Linked DNA regions of Homo sapiens: region 2 is linked to region 1. Evidence: promoter capture Hi-C in human tissues and cell types (Jung and others, 2019). All regions are on one chromosome and are shown on one strand. The core of a region is centred on a gene start or on the middle of the fragment in contact, and the rest is flanking DNA. Distances in the headings are between cores, read along the strand shown. Region 1 holds the start of RANBP17 (RAN binding protein 17). Region 2 holds the start of TLX3 (T cell leukemia homeobox 3).

Region 1 (6,232 bases), core at 1,007-3,506:
TGGTAAACATTCCAGGCTTTTGTTTTTTTGAGACAGATTCTTGCTCTGTTGCCTGGCCTGGAGTGCAGTGGTGCAATCACGGCCCACTGCAGCCTATAGCTTCTGGGCCCAAGGGGTCTTCCCACCTCAGCCTCCCGAGTAGCTGGAACTACAGGCACATGCTACTACACCAAGCTAATTTTTTGTATTTCTTGTAGAGATGGGCTTTCACCATGTTGCCCAGGCTGGTCTCAAACTCCTGGATTCAAGCGATCCACCCTCTCTGGCTTTCCAACGTGCTGGGATTATAGTCATGAGCCATCATGCCCAGCCACATTCTAGGCTTTTAGTTGTAAGACCTAGTAAGGACCATGGCCTAGGAGTAAGGTCATAACTGAAGTTAACCAGAATTAAAAAGACTCAATGATCCACTAGTACTCTTGTCTGCCTACCACAAGAAAACTTAGCCCTCCTTGGAGAAACCTGTTATCATCCAGAGCCTCTACAAATTTTCTTCTACATGGTTTGAATTCAACAAGAAATCATGAGATATGTAAAAAAAAAAAAAAAAAAAAAAAAAAAAAAAAGAAAGAAAAAAAAGGGCCAAGGGCCAAGCACCAAAAACCCAGGAAGACTCAGATGATTCAGAAATTGGAGTTAACAGATAAGGGCTTTAAATAATACAGTTAAAATGTTTAAGAAAATAAAGACAAAGAATTTCATCAAAGCCTTGGAATCTATTTTTAAAATGGGAGAGGAGGAGGAACCATGAAAATTTCAACTTTCTAAATGAAAATTCTAGAACTGAAAATATTATAACTAAAACTAAGAATTCAATAGAGGGGATGTATAGCAGCTCAGACACAGCAGAACAGAGTTTCTATGGAATGGACAGCAGGCAAATAAAAAATACAGAATAGAAATAAGGAATATAGCAAAAACTTATAACATACATGTAACTGGAGTTCCAGAATGGAGAGGTAGAGAGAGAGAAGGGGACAGATGCAATATTTAAAGAACTAGTGACCAAGATTTTTCAAAACTTGATAAAAAAGATTACATTCACACTTAAAGAGCTTTATGAATCCCAAGCAGGATAAATACAACACACACACACACACACACTTAGCGACATCAAGCACAAAGTGCTGAAGACAAAAAGAAAAAATAAAAAAAGAGAAAAATGTTCAAGTACCTGAGGAGGGGGCCAAAAGACAGGAGCAACAATTAGACTGATGGCTGATTTCTCAATAGAAACAATGACAAGCAGAAGACAATGAGAAGACATTTTTAAAATGCTGAAAGATTAAAAAAAAAGCCAATGTGAAATTCTATACCCAGCAAAACTATCCTTTAAAAAATGAAGGTGAATTAAGATGATTTTATGTTAACAAAAGCTGAGAGACTTTGTTGTTAGCAGACCTGAATACAAGAAGTGCTTAAGGGAGTTTCCCTCTTAAATACTACAGCACAGTGCTCCCAAATGGAAATGCTGAACTTGAAGAAAAAACGGAGAACATCAGAAAGCAGCAACTTTGACCCAATTCTGCTCCAATAAATTCTCATTGCAGTGGAATCATTTGTTGTAAAATATAAGTTCATATTAAACAAAATGCAGACAAAGAATGAGGTAAAGCTTGAATTTTACAACTTAACAGCATGTAGACATGGGCGGTTTAATTTTAACCAAAATCAAGTTAAAAACATTGTTAAGCAACAATGGAATTTGGGCCCTGGGAGTCAGGGGTCAAGGGCAACAGCTGGCATGTGGGAGTCAAAGGTTATGGCTGTGTGTGTCTGTGGTTCCTGGCTGTTAGGAGACAAGAAAATCTGTGGAGATGCAGGTGTCGGGAGCCATGGGCGATAGTTGTATTTTGAGGGTCAGGGGTCAAGAGAGCCTTTGGAAGACTTATGAGTCAGGGTCCACGGCTGACGGGTGGGTCGTGGTAGTTGTGTCAAAGGGCAGAGGTTGGAGGTCATGACCCACCAACACACGCCGGTTGAAACTTGAGCGCAAGGGACGGTTGAGATTCCCGGAGGACACGCCCCTATCGGCCCCGCCCCGTGCACCGCCTCCGTCGCCCCGCCCCGTCCCTCCCAGCCCCGCCCCGTCCCTCCCAGCCCCGCCCCTCCAGCGCTTCGAATGCGGACGCGAAGCCTGGCTGAGGCTGCGAAGGACGAGCGGCGCAGGGACCCCGCGGGCGTCTGGGGCTTCCGCGGCGCCCGCCTCTGCTCCCTCCCCTCGGGCGCTGGGTGCCGACCGGCCGGCTGGCCGGCGCCGCCTCCTGGGAAGATGGCGCTGCACTTCCAGGTCAGTGTGCTCTGCGCCGCGGGCCCGCGCTCCGCCACGCTGGGAACCCGGCGGGACGCGTCTGGAGACCGAGGGCCGAGGACAGCGGCGGAGGCCGCAGGGCCGTGGGCCGGTGTCCCCGGAGTCCCAGCCCCTGCCTCTGCCCCTAGCCGGGGACCGGGACACTGGTCTGGGCTGCACACCCCAGGCCCGGGCCGGAGCCCGAGAAAGGGGCGGCCGAGCCTGGGTTGGAGGCGGCGGGTGGAGGGGGCGGGGGACAGGCCCAGGGCTCGTCCCGGGGAAGGTGCGGACGCCGGCAGCACGCTCGCTGACCGCGGCTTTAGTGTTGCCAGGGCAGGTGGGAGTCCCAGCTGGGCCGGCTTTGGCGCGCCTCGCGCGGCTGCCGAGCGGTGGAGCAGCCTTCCCGCCTTCCCGCCGCGTCGCCGGCGCGGCTCTATCGTCAGCCTCCCTCCACACAGTTGAGCCCCAGCCGGAGCGGGGGCTTGGGATCCACCGAAGGAGCGGCGGCAGCGGTTGGACTTTAATTGGCCAGAGGAGACAGGGGCTGCGTCTGGGGGGAGTTGCGAGGGAGGGCTACGCGGCCGCCTCTTCGGAGGAGGAAACCCGGGCCGGGCGCGGGCGCGGGCGCGGACGCGAGGATCGCAGAGGCTACGAAGATGGGACGCGTGCTTGTATATCCTCGGGCTGCTCTGACATCCCCGTTCAGTTATTCAGCAAACATTTATTATCTCCCCACTGTGTCTCAAGCATTGTGGAAAGTTCTGGGGATAAAGGATGACATCTTACTATCCTCGCCCTCATACAGTTAACAGAGAATTACAGTACAAGTGAAAAATGTATGGTAGAAATAGTCACAGTATCATAGCACAGAAAAGGGGGTAGCCAGCCAAATGTGTATGTTGAGAAGGAGTGAAGCAGAGCTGCTATGCTCTTAGCTGAGAGATGCTTTAAGATTCTTTGAGCCTCCATTCTTCCATTTATTAATTATTGAGCGCCTACTATGCTAGGCGCTGAAGATACAACAGCTCTGAACAAAACTATGGTTTCTACTCTCAGGGAACTTGCAGTCTACTGGTCCTTGAAAGAGTCGTAGTTGTTTGCCAGGTGAAGAGGAAGGGAAGGATATGGAGGTAGAAGGACGTGTGAGCCAAGGCAAAGAATTGTGGAAGAACATGGTGTACTGCAGAAAGTTGAGTCTGGTTGGGACAAAGGGATGGGATCAGGGGAGGCAGTGGGTGGCAGGAGATGACCCCAGGGAGGGAAGGGAATTTCATAATATGGTGACAGTGTATCTAAGAATCTCATTCCCCTTGTAGACTCTTTTGAACCCCCTGTGATCACACTGATTTATAACTTGGCTGATTTATTGATTCTTCTAAAGGGTCTTTTTTTTAAAACCAGTTACTGTCTGATAATCGACAGTTCTAGAATGTTATGTAGTAAGCCCGACACATTACCTTTTGACTTCATGCCATTTCTAAGGGTCCTCAGGTCAAAATAATGTATTACCACTTTAGTAAATATGCCCTCTGGGAAATTTTCACAGGAAGAATCTTACAAGGAGGATTTATGGATTGTAAATAGGTAATCAGATGTTCACAGAGCCCGAGTAAATCTTGAGAGTAAATTAAAAGGTATGGTGGAACTTTGGAATTTTTTCATACATGGAAAGGTGATGTACAGTTAAATCACCAAGCCCTGGAAGACTTCTTCATATTTAGGCACAGTGTTGGAAAAGTTAGCTGCTGATGTCAAAACTACCCATATTGGTTTTGCAGGAATGTACTTCACAGTACATTCCAACATAAGTACTTCACAGTACATTCCTGTAGACAGCTTAAAAGCGGAGTTGGACAAATAAAAGATCAGACAGTTTTGTTGACTAGAAAAAAACTGAAATTTCTCCGTTTGAATTCTTTTTAGCATATAGGATCATATTGTTAATCAGTTAACTCAAGGAACATTTGTTAATAGTGATAACCAGTACCTAGCATTTTGAGTTTTCATATCCTCATTATAGAGGTGAGCCCTGCCACTAACTTAAAAAGTGTGCATATATACGTTTCATTCTGAAGACACTGAGTCTTAAAACAGTTGTGACTTGCCCAACGTTACAGAGTTAGAGTAGGCCTCATAACTCATAAGTTCCGTGTTCCCCATTACCTCTGTCTTACTGTCACCTACCCAAAAGGGCAGCTAGGCAAAAATTATACCATCAAGATGATGAGTAAAGAAGCAGATTTGTGTAGGGTGAGGTTAGGGTAGTGGTCAACATCTTTTTCACATCATGACATACATAAAAAATGTTAATTGTGTGTCTCATTAACATAAACCGCTCATTGCCAAAGGCCATCAGTGTGCACTTTCCCCAATGTCTCAAGCTCTGCTCCTAATGCTTGGAGGGCAGAGGGATCAATATCTCAGGCATACCTGTGAATCATTCAAAGCAGTTGCATTCTGGTTAGGAAGCTGTGAATTACGATACCCTGTCCCAAAGGAATTAATGGGTCTGGATTCCCTGACAGGCAATCCAGATAAGGGGGCAGAGTGAGGAAAAAGAATTGAGAAGAAGTAAGAGGTAGGCACTTTAGGTAGAACAGAGGTACCTTGGTAAGAATCGAGAGAATGTTAGGAAAAATTTAAGGGACTCAGTTGATCCAACTTTTTTGCTCAGGACTGTTTAAGAAGCAGGAAATATAGCCATGCTTCTTAATCTCCAGTCAAGCTACCTGATTTGATCTAGATGTGATTGAGAACTATTATTTTTAAATGCAATTATAACATGAGAAAAGGTATGTGGGAATGACCATTCTGGCAGTGTGGACTTGAATGGGAGAAACTATGGAAGATCCGTATGGTCTTTTATATTCACCAGTAACTGGAGAGATTATTTATGATTTATTGTGGATCTTCTGTATGGCAGGCACTGGATTAGGCTTTCCCCATCTTTTCTATCTTCATTCTACAATTAGTTTGGAAGGTAGATATTGCTGTTTGCAGGTTTGTTGTTGTTGTTGTTGTCGTTTGTTTTTTGAGACAGAATCTTGCTCGCCCAGGCTGGAGTGCAGTGGTGGAATCTCGGCTAACTGCAGCCTCTGCCTCCCGGGTTCCAGTGATTCTCTTGCCTCAGCCTCCTGGGTAGCTGGGATTACAGTTGCAAGCCACCATGCCCTGCTAATTTTTGTATTTTTAGTAGAGACAGGGTTTCTCCATGTTGGCCAGGCTGACCTCGAATTCCTGACCTCAGGTGATCCGCCCACTTCGGCCTCCCAAAGTGCTAGGATTACAGGAGTGAGCCACCGCGCCCGGCCCTGTTTGCAGTTTTAACAGCAAGGCTTAGAAAGGTTAAATTATTTGCCCGAGGTCACTTAATAAGTGAGTGGCAGATTCCAAAGGTTGTGTCCACTCTGTTGGACCAGTGGTTTTCAAATCGAACCATGACATTTCTAAGACCCCACTACTCTCTACTCGCATTCCCAGAGCAGCTTGAGAAATCCCTGGCCCTGGCAGCCACAGTTAGAAAATATTGCTTGATCTACTGTCTGTGAATATCAGGGGGAGGTGTTGAGTTGAGTCTTTATAGAAGAATAATTGGGAGGACTTTATGACAAATTAGGTATGTCCCTGGAATTAGCCATACTGAGATTAGAGGGCAGAGTCCACAAGACTGCCCTTTCTTCTCAGACCAAGTGCAAGTTTGGGGGTTTCCCAAAACCACCCTCAGGTTCAGTAGTTGACTCACAGAATTCACCGAAAGTTGTCATACTCAGTTGCAGTTTGTTACAGGGACAGGATACAGATTAAAATTGGTCAAAGGAAGGTGACACAGGGCAACATCTGTGCAGGTTTCAAAACTAAGCTTCTGTTGGCCTCAGGACATGTTGTGCTCCCTGCATCAATATATGGCAATATGCACTAATTATTGCAAACTGGGTGAGCTCA
Region 2 (6,232 bases), core at 2,058-4,557, 450 kb after region 1:
GAACATACCTGGCCAAAACAGTGCTTAGAGGAAAACGTATGCCCTTGAGTGCATTTATTTAAAAAGAAAGAAAATTGACAAATTAAATTTTCAACTCAGCAAAGAAGGAATAAATCTTTTTTTAAACCGCAACATTCACGAAAGAGGTGGCATCTTAAAAGGGGATAATGACATCAAAGGCTTTTTTAAAAACCAACAAAATAACAAACCTTTGGCAAGTATGATCAGGAGAAGGCATGAATGAGCGACACGGGGAATGAGAAGTGGAAGGCATTAGTACAGATTCGTATGAGAGTTGCAAATTCTGAGAGAATCTTCCCACAATGTTACAACAACACATTTGAAAACTCAGATGGAATGGACCATATTCTGGGCACTGGCTTCCAGAGTTGAGCAGGCATCAGAATCACCTGGAGGGCTTGTTAAGCACAGACTGCCGAGTCCTACCCCAGAGTGTCTGATGCCGTAGGTCTGGCGAGGGTCCAATAATTTGCATTTCTAACAAATTCTCCAGTGATGCTGATGCTGCTGCTCTGGAAACACACTCTGAGAACCACTGTCCTAGGGACTAACCAAGTTCCCCCCATTCCTGAGCTGCCTAAGAGCTATCTGGATAGGAAGTGAAAGGAGGCTTATAATTAGTGGCCCAAAGCTCCTTCATCTGTATGACAGGGCTGGACGATGAGGGACCGTGGATCTCAGGAAGCCGGAAGCCAAGCAGTGAAGCAGAGCCCTGACCCGTGCCAGGCTTTACCTGGGGCGCTTATTTAATCCCATGAGGTTTATTTACCAGATGAGAAAACTGAGGCATAAAGAGGATGAATAATTCCCTGAGTCCACAGCTGGTAAACTGAGGTGGGAATCCCATTCTTAAGCACACAAGCTGGGAGCAGCGCTGTGCCACCCACGCCTTAATTCTGTGCCACAAACCTCTGTGCGGTGGGCCTTGTTGTCCTGATTTAACAGTGTCTGAAGTGACAAGGGCAGCCCTGAGTCCCGGGCACTGGAAGCCAGAAGGGAAGTGGAGCTGGTGAGGTGCCAACTCCAGCCCCCAAGTGGGGAGCTGTGCTTCCCTTGAACTCTCAAAGCCTCAATTCCCTCATTAGTGAGAAATTGGGGCCACTAACAGCCCTTTCCTCACAGGGTCATTGTGAAGAATAAATAAGTGTCCACCTCCCTGCCTGGCACAGGCTAGGGTCTCAGCTACAGTAGCTTTATAGTTGTCATTAAAGTTATTATGATATAACCGCCAGAGTTTCACACAGGCACTGCCACAGATGTTATCTCATTTTGTTCTCACAGCCACCCTGGGGGTAGCTGGTGCCCTTTTTGTTTTACAAATAAGGAAAATGCGGTTCTGGGAGGGGCGGTTAGGGACCCACACTGCCAGTGGCAGAGCCTGAATTAGAAGCAGGAGGCCCCCTGGAGCCAGGGCAATGGCATCTACCCCATCTGAGGGTCGTTGTCGCTGGAAGGGAGTGAGGGAGCACTTGCCCAGACCCCAGACATCCTGCAGCTCTCACTCCTCACTGTTGGGCCTCCCTCTCCACACCCACCAGGAAGGCTTAGCAAGGGCCAGGAATTTGCCCAAGGTCACACAGCGGGCAAGTGACCTAACTCCAGACCCAGGCCTGGAGGCCCTGCAAATCCTGACGCCTTTGGATTGTTGGGAGAAGAGAGAAAGAATCCCCAACCTGCACCTCCTGTCTTTCCCCGTCCTCTGAAACTGACCCTACTGGTAGACAAATACACCTTTCTCTCCAACGTACTGAGCCCCTGCAAATAAAATTAAACTGCCAACAAAATAAACAAGAGTCACAACAATAATACATCAGCCATTACTCTGGGGGGATAGAGTGGGAGGTGAGCCACGCTGCCCAGTGCCTACTACGTGCCAGGCCCAGTGCTCTGCGCTCCCTCAATATCTCACTCGCGGCTCACGAACAACCCGCATGCATGCATTATTTTCCTTTTTTGCAAACGAGAAAACCGAAATCTAAATATATAGAGTCAATTTCTCAAGGTCACTCAGCGAGGAAATGGCCAGTCCAAATTTGAACACACTTCTGGCCAACAACAGCACATCCGAGCTCTCACCACTGTCCACACCACAAGGAGCGGGAGGAAGAACCCAGGCCAGGGGTGCGACACTCAAAGAGTTTGCACCTAACGATTTTAGAATTCGCTGGAAGAAAATGATTCCGCTTGTCTCCCCAAAGCTGCAGCGGAAGGTGACTACTTCGTGTGCGGTCCTGTCCACGGTGCCCTGGGCCGGGTAGACAGTCACTGAGGCGCGAGCAGAACGGGGAGTGGTTCCAGCGCCCAAAGTGGACTGGAGCCGGGAAGGGCTCACCAGTCGCGTTTCCCAAAGAAATCCCGCAATTTGCTCTAGGAGCTGCCCGCGCCTTTGACATTCAGGAACCCGAAGTCCCTAGACCCGCCGAGCCGCGAGCGGGTTCCCACGCGCGACCACAGCCCCCTTCCATCCTGCAACGAATTACGAGAGTCAGGTCCCCGCTCCCCACCGGGCGACCCCGCGTCCCTAGCCCAGCCGCAGCTGGCACGCGTGGGCACCTGCGAGTCACGCCTCGGTCCGCCTGGCCGGAGCCAGGGAGTGTCTCCAAAGTGGCCGCGAGGCCGCGGCCGAAACCCGGGCGGGGGCGAATTCTCCCCACGCGGGTCGGCGTCATCCGGGGCGCGGAGAACGCTACGGTGCTCCCCTCGCCCCGCGCGCAGGCAGCGCGAAGCCTGCCCCGGGTAGTGCGCCCCTTTCGTTCCTCCGGCGGCGGTAGCGTCCAAGGGGCTTCTGCGGATTCCGCCGGGTCGTCCCGGGGTTGCAACTCCATTGTACCTGAAAGGATGCATTTGGTTTGGCTTTTGCTCAGATGAAAAAAAAAAAAAATTGGAAGAAAACGAAAACCCACTCAGCAAAAGACAATTTCACAAGCGGAGCGCTCTACCCACCCAGCGCGGTGTCTGGGAAGCGGCCCGGCCCGGAGGAGCGGGGAGCGTCTGCTAATTGCAGCTTCGTTAGATTTCGGGTTTGGGAGGCTGTGGTTCGGGCTCTAATATCCGCCGCCCATTATCCCTGCTAATAAATTTGACCTATTGTTCGTTTGTTAAAATGATGTCACCTTGGAACAGTCCCTAAGCTCCTATTTCCATGAATTAGGCCTTTATTGAAAGCCGGGAGCCAATGAGAGGAGAGAGGCTTGTTGATCGCAGCCAATGGCTGCGGCAGGAGAGGAATTAGCAGCGGAAACTCCAGGTTCGGTTCAAGAAAGATGACACAGAGCCTGTCGGGCCCGCGCACTCTTGGCAAAGTTTCAGTGCGACGAGAGGCGCCGGGCGCTCCATGGCCGCGCCGTAACGGGGACCCAGCCGCCTCCCCGCCCAGCCCAGCCCAGCCCTTCCGCCCGCCCAGGATGGAGGCGCCCGCCAGCGCGCAGACCCCGCACCCGCACGAGCCCATCAGCTTCGGCATCGACCAGATCCTTAACAGCCCGGACCAGGACAGCGCACCCGCCCCGCGGGGCCCCGACGGCGCCAGCTACCTGGGAGGGCCCCCCGGGGGCCGTCCGGGCGCCACATACCCGTCTCTGCCCGCCTCCTTTGCGGGCCTCGGCGCGCCCTTCGAGGACGCGGGATCTTACAGTGTGAACCTGAGCCTAGCGCCCGCAGGCGTGATCCGGGTGCCGGCGCACAGGCCGCTGCCCGGGGCCGTGCCACCGCCTCTGCCAAGCGCGCTACCCGCCATGCCCTCCGTGCCCACGGTCTCCAGCCTTGGCGGTCTCAATTTCCCCTGGATGGAGAGCAGCCGCCGCTTCGTGAAAGACCGCTTCACAGGTGAGCAGAGCTGGCGACCAGGCTCCAGGCCTCCGCCCTCTCGGGGCCAGAGGCGCCGCGCCCTGTGCGCTCCACTCCCGGAAACCATTTCAGAGGCCCAAGCGCGGCGGAGGCCTCGGCCCCAGGGCCCCGGGCAGCCGTGGTGGGGAGGGTAATCGGAGAGTTGCAGGAAAATAAGCCCGTGCCCGGGGGAAGGGACAGGGGGCGAGGGGGTCTCCCGACCGGCTTGGTGTCTCTGGAAACGCGCGCGACCAGCGAAATAGCGGAGCTCTCCGTGTCCCACGGGGCGCCACGGGGTCCGCATGGGGCCTGAACGGTGGCGGAGCCGGGCTGGGCTTCAGGGGCCCTCCTGTGTCTCCGCAGCGGCGGCCGCACTCACGCCCTTCACCGTGACCCGGCGCATCGGCCACCCCTACCAGAACCGGACGCCGCCCAAGCGTAAGAAGCCGCGCACGTCCTTTTCCCGGGTGCAGATCTGCGAGCTGGAAAAGCGCTTCCATCGCCAGAAGTACCTGGCCTCTGCCGAGAGGGCGGCGCTCGCCAAGTCCCTCAAAATGACGGACGCGCAGGTCAAGACCTGGTTCCAAAACCGGAGGACCAAGTGGCGGTGAGAGAGGCCTGACCCGGCCCACCTTACACCTGCCCTTCACCTGTCCCGCCCCGAGCCGCAGCCTCGCACTAGCCCTATTTTAAGGCTATCCACTACCCCCGCCCCCCTCTGCCTCCCCCAAACACACCCCCACCCCGCCTTCGCAGATTGTACCTCTTCCTTTCACCCTTCTCGCTGGCCTGTGCTTCTCTCTCCATCGTGGTCTCCCACGCCTTGGTTTCTCCTCCATCCCCATCCCCATCTTTCGTGAGCCCCTCCAACTCTCTCCCCGTGTTTTGTACGGTCTCCTGCGTTCACTTGATTTCCTCTCACCCACCCCCGCCCCAAACACACAGGCACACACACACACACACACACGCGCACACACACGGGCCTCTCGCACTCTCCTTCTCCTCCTTCTTCCAGCCCGCCCTCTCGGATTTTCAACAATCCTCGTGGACGCCGGTTTCCTCTCCCCCCATCTCCGCGTCTCCATTCCAGCCGCGTTTTTATCCGATCTCTGTTTTGATTCAACCCGTAAACGGCGAAGCGATCGCGTCTGGAAAGGGGTTCAAGACAGGCCCTGGGCGAACTGGATGAGACTGACCCAGCCCCCGGGCGTCGTGCGGGTGGTGCAGAGCCAGCCTGCTCACCCGCGGACCCCAGCGACCCCGGTTCCCGCAGGGCCAAGTCAGTTACACATAGGCCCTGCCCTTGCTATCTGGCGAAAGGAACAATCTTTATTGTTGGTGAAGCCACAATACCCGGGCGTGCAGGTGGGCGGCGGGCAGAGTCCCCTCCTGGAGACCCTCTGGCACACAACAAAAACAAATGATCCTAACCGGCTCCCTGGATATAAGAGCCTCGGGCGTAAAGCGCGGGCTGGGAGGCAGACGGGTTCTGCGCCTCGAGGCTCCCGGATGGCCTCGGCTCCCGGGAGGGCCGGGGCCCCGCCGGCGGCCCCGCGGTGCCGGGTGCATGACGGTACTGTCCCTCTCCCTCCCCCGGTGCAGGCGGCAGACGGCGGAGGAGCGGGAGGCGGAGCGGCAGCAGGCGAGCCGGCTCATGCTGCAGCTGCAACACGACGCCTTCCAAAAGAGCCTCAACGACTCCATCCAGCCTGACCCGCTCTGTCTGCACAACTCGTCACTCTTTGCTCTGCAGAATCTGCAGCCCTGGGAGGAGGATAGTTCCAAGGTTCCCGCTGTCACCTCCCTGGTGTGAGCCCACCAGCGCGCACCGTCGCCACGGATCGCCGCCCCCACCCAGCCGGGCGCCCCGGACCCCCCAGGCGGGCTGCGGGGGAACCGGCGCCGAGAGGGGAAGGGGCCGCCTAGCCCGAGTAGGCCCCAGGGCGCGGCCACAGACTGGCGGGCCGCGGAAGGGGGTAGGGCCCGAGCTCCGCGCGGCCGCACAATCCGAGCCCCCGCCCCGCGCCCCGTCCCGCCCCAGGCCCGGGCCTGACAAGAAAGCGCCTTACGTTTCTCCGCCCCCCGCCCGCACCCCCCGGGCCGGGCGCCTGTATTATACTTTGTACTTTTGCCCAAACGTGTAAATAATAAAAAAGTTTTGGCTTTTTTCTTTAGAAACCGGCCACCTGCTTCCCCCGCGGGGGCCGCTGGAGGAAGGGCAGCCGACCCGGCCGCTGGGGGAAGTGCCAGGGGCCCGGGGCACCCTGCGTTTAGGCTGGGTCCACTCTTCTTCTTTTCCGTTCCTTTTATTTAAGTCTTTTTATTTAATAAAAAAGTTAGCTATTTCACTTAACGCCGCTTTTATTTCGTTTTCGTTCCAATAATG

The links. Contacts are between HindIII fragments. The study calls those that stand out against the background at their distance.
Region 2: the fragment with the promoter of TLX3 here is called in contact with the fragment with the promoter of RANBP17 in region 1 in 2 of the 25 tissues and cell types used here (H1 embryonic stem cells and neural progenitor cells).

Annotation. Positions count from the first base shown.
Region 1 is chr5:170,859,762-170,865,993 of GRCh38, forward strand. It overlaps RANBP17 (RAN binding protein 17), which reads left to right and starts at 2,257. Exons shown (of 28, transcript NM_022897.5): 1 at 2,257-2,290. The coding sequence starts at 2,273. The HindIII fragment of the contact is 7,494 bases long and covers 1-6,232 here.
Region 2 is chr5:171,305,941-171,312,172 of GRCh38, forward strand. TLX3 (T cell leukemia homeobox 3) reads left to right here and starts at 3,308. Exons shown (of 3, transcript NM_021025.4): 1 at 3,308-3,846; 2 at 4,210-4,453; 3 at 5,449-6,199. The coding sequence starts at 3,426. The coding sequence ends at 5,659. RefSeq lists enhancers at 1,915-2,799, 2,800-3,685, 3,686-4,570, 4,571-5,456. The HindIII fragment of the contact is 20,402 bases long and covers 1-6,232 here.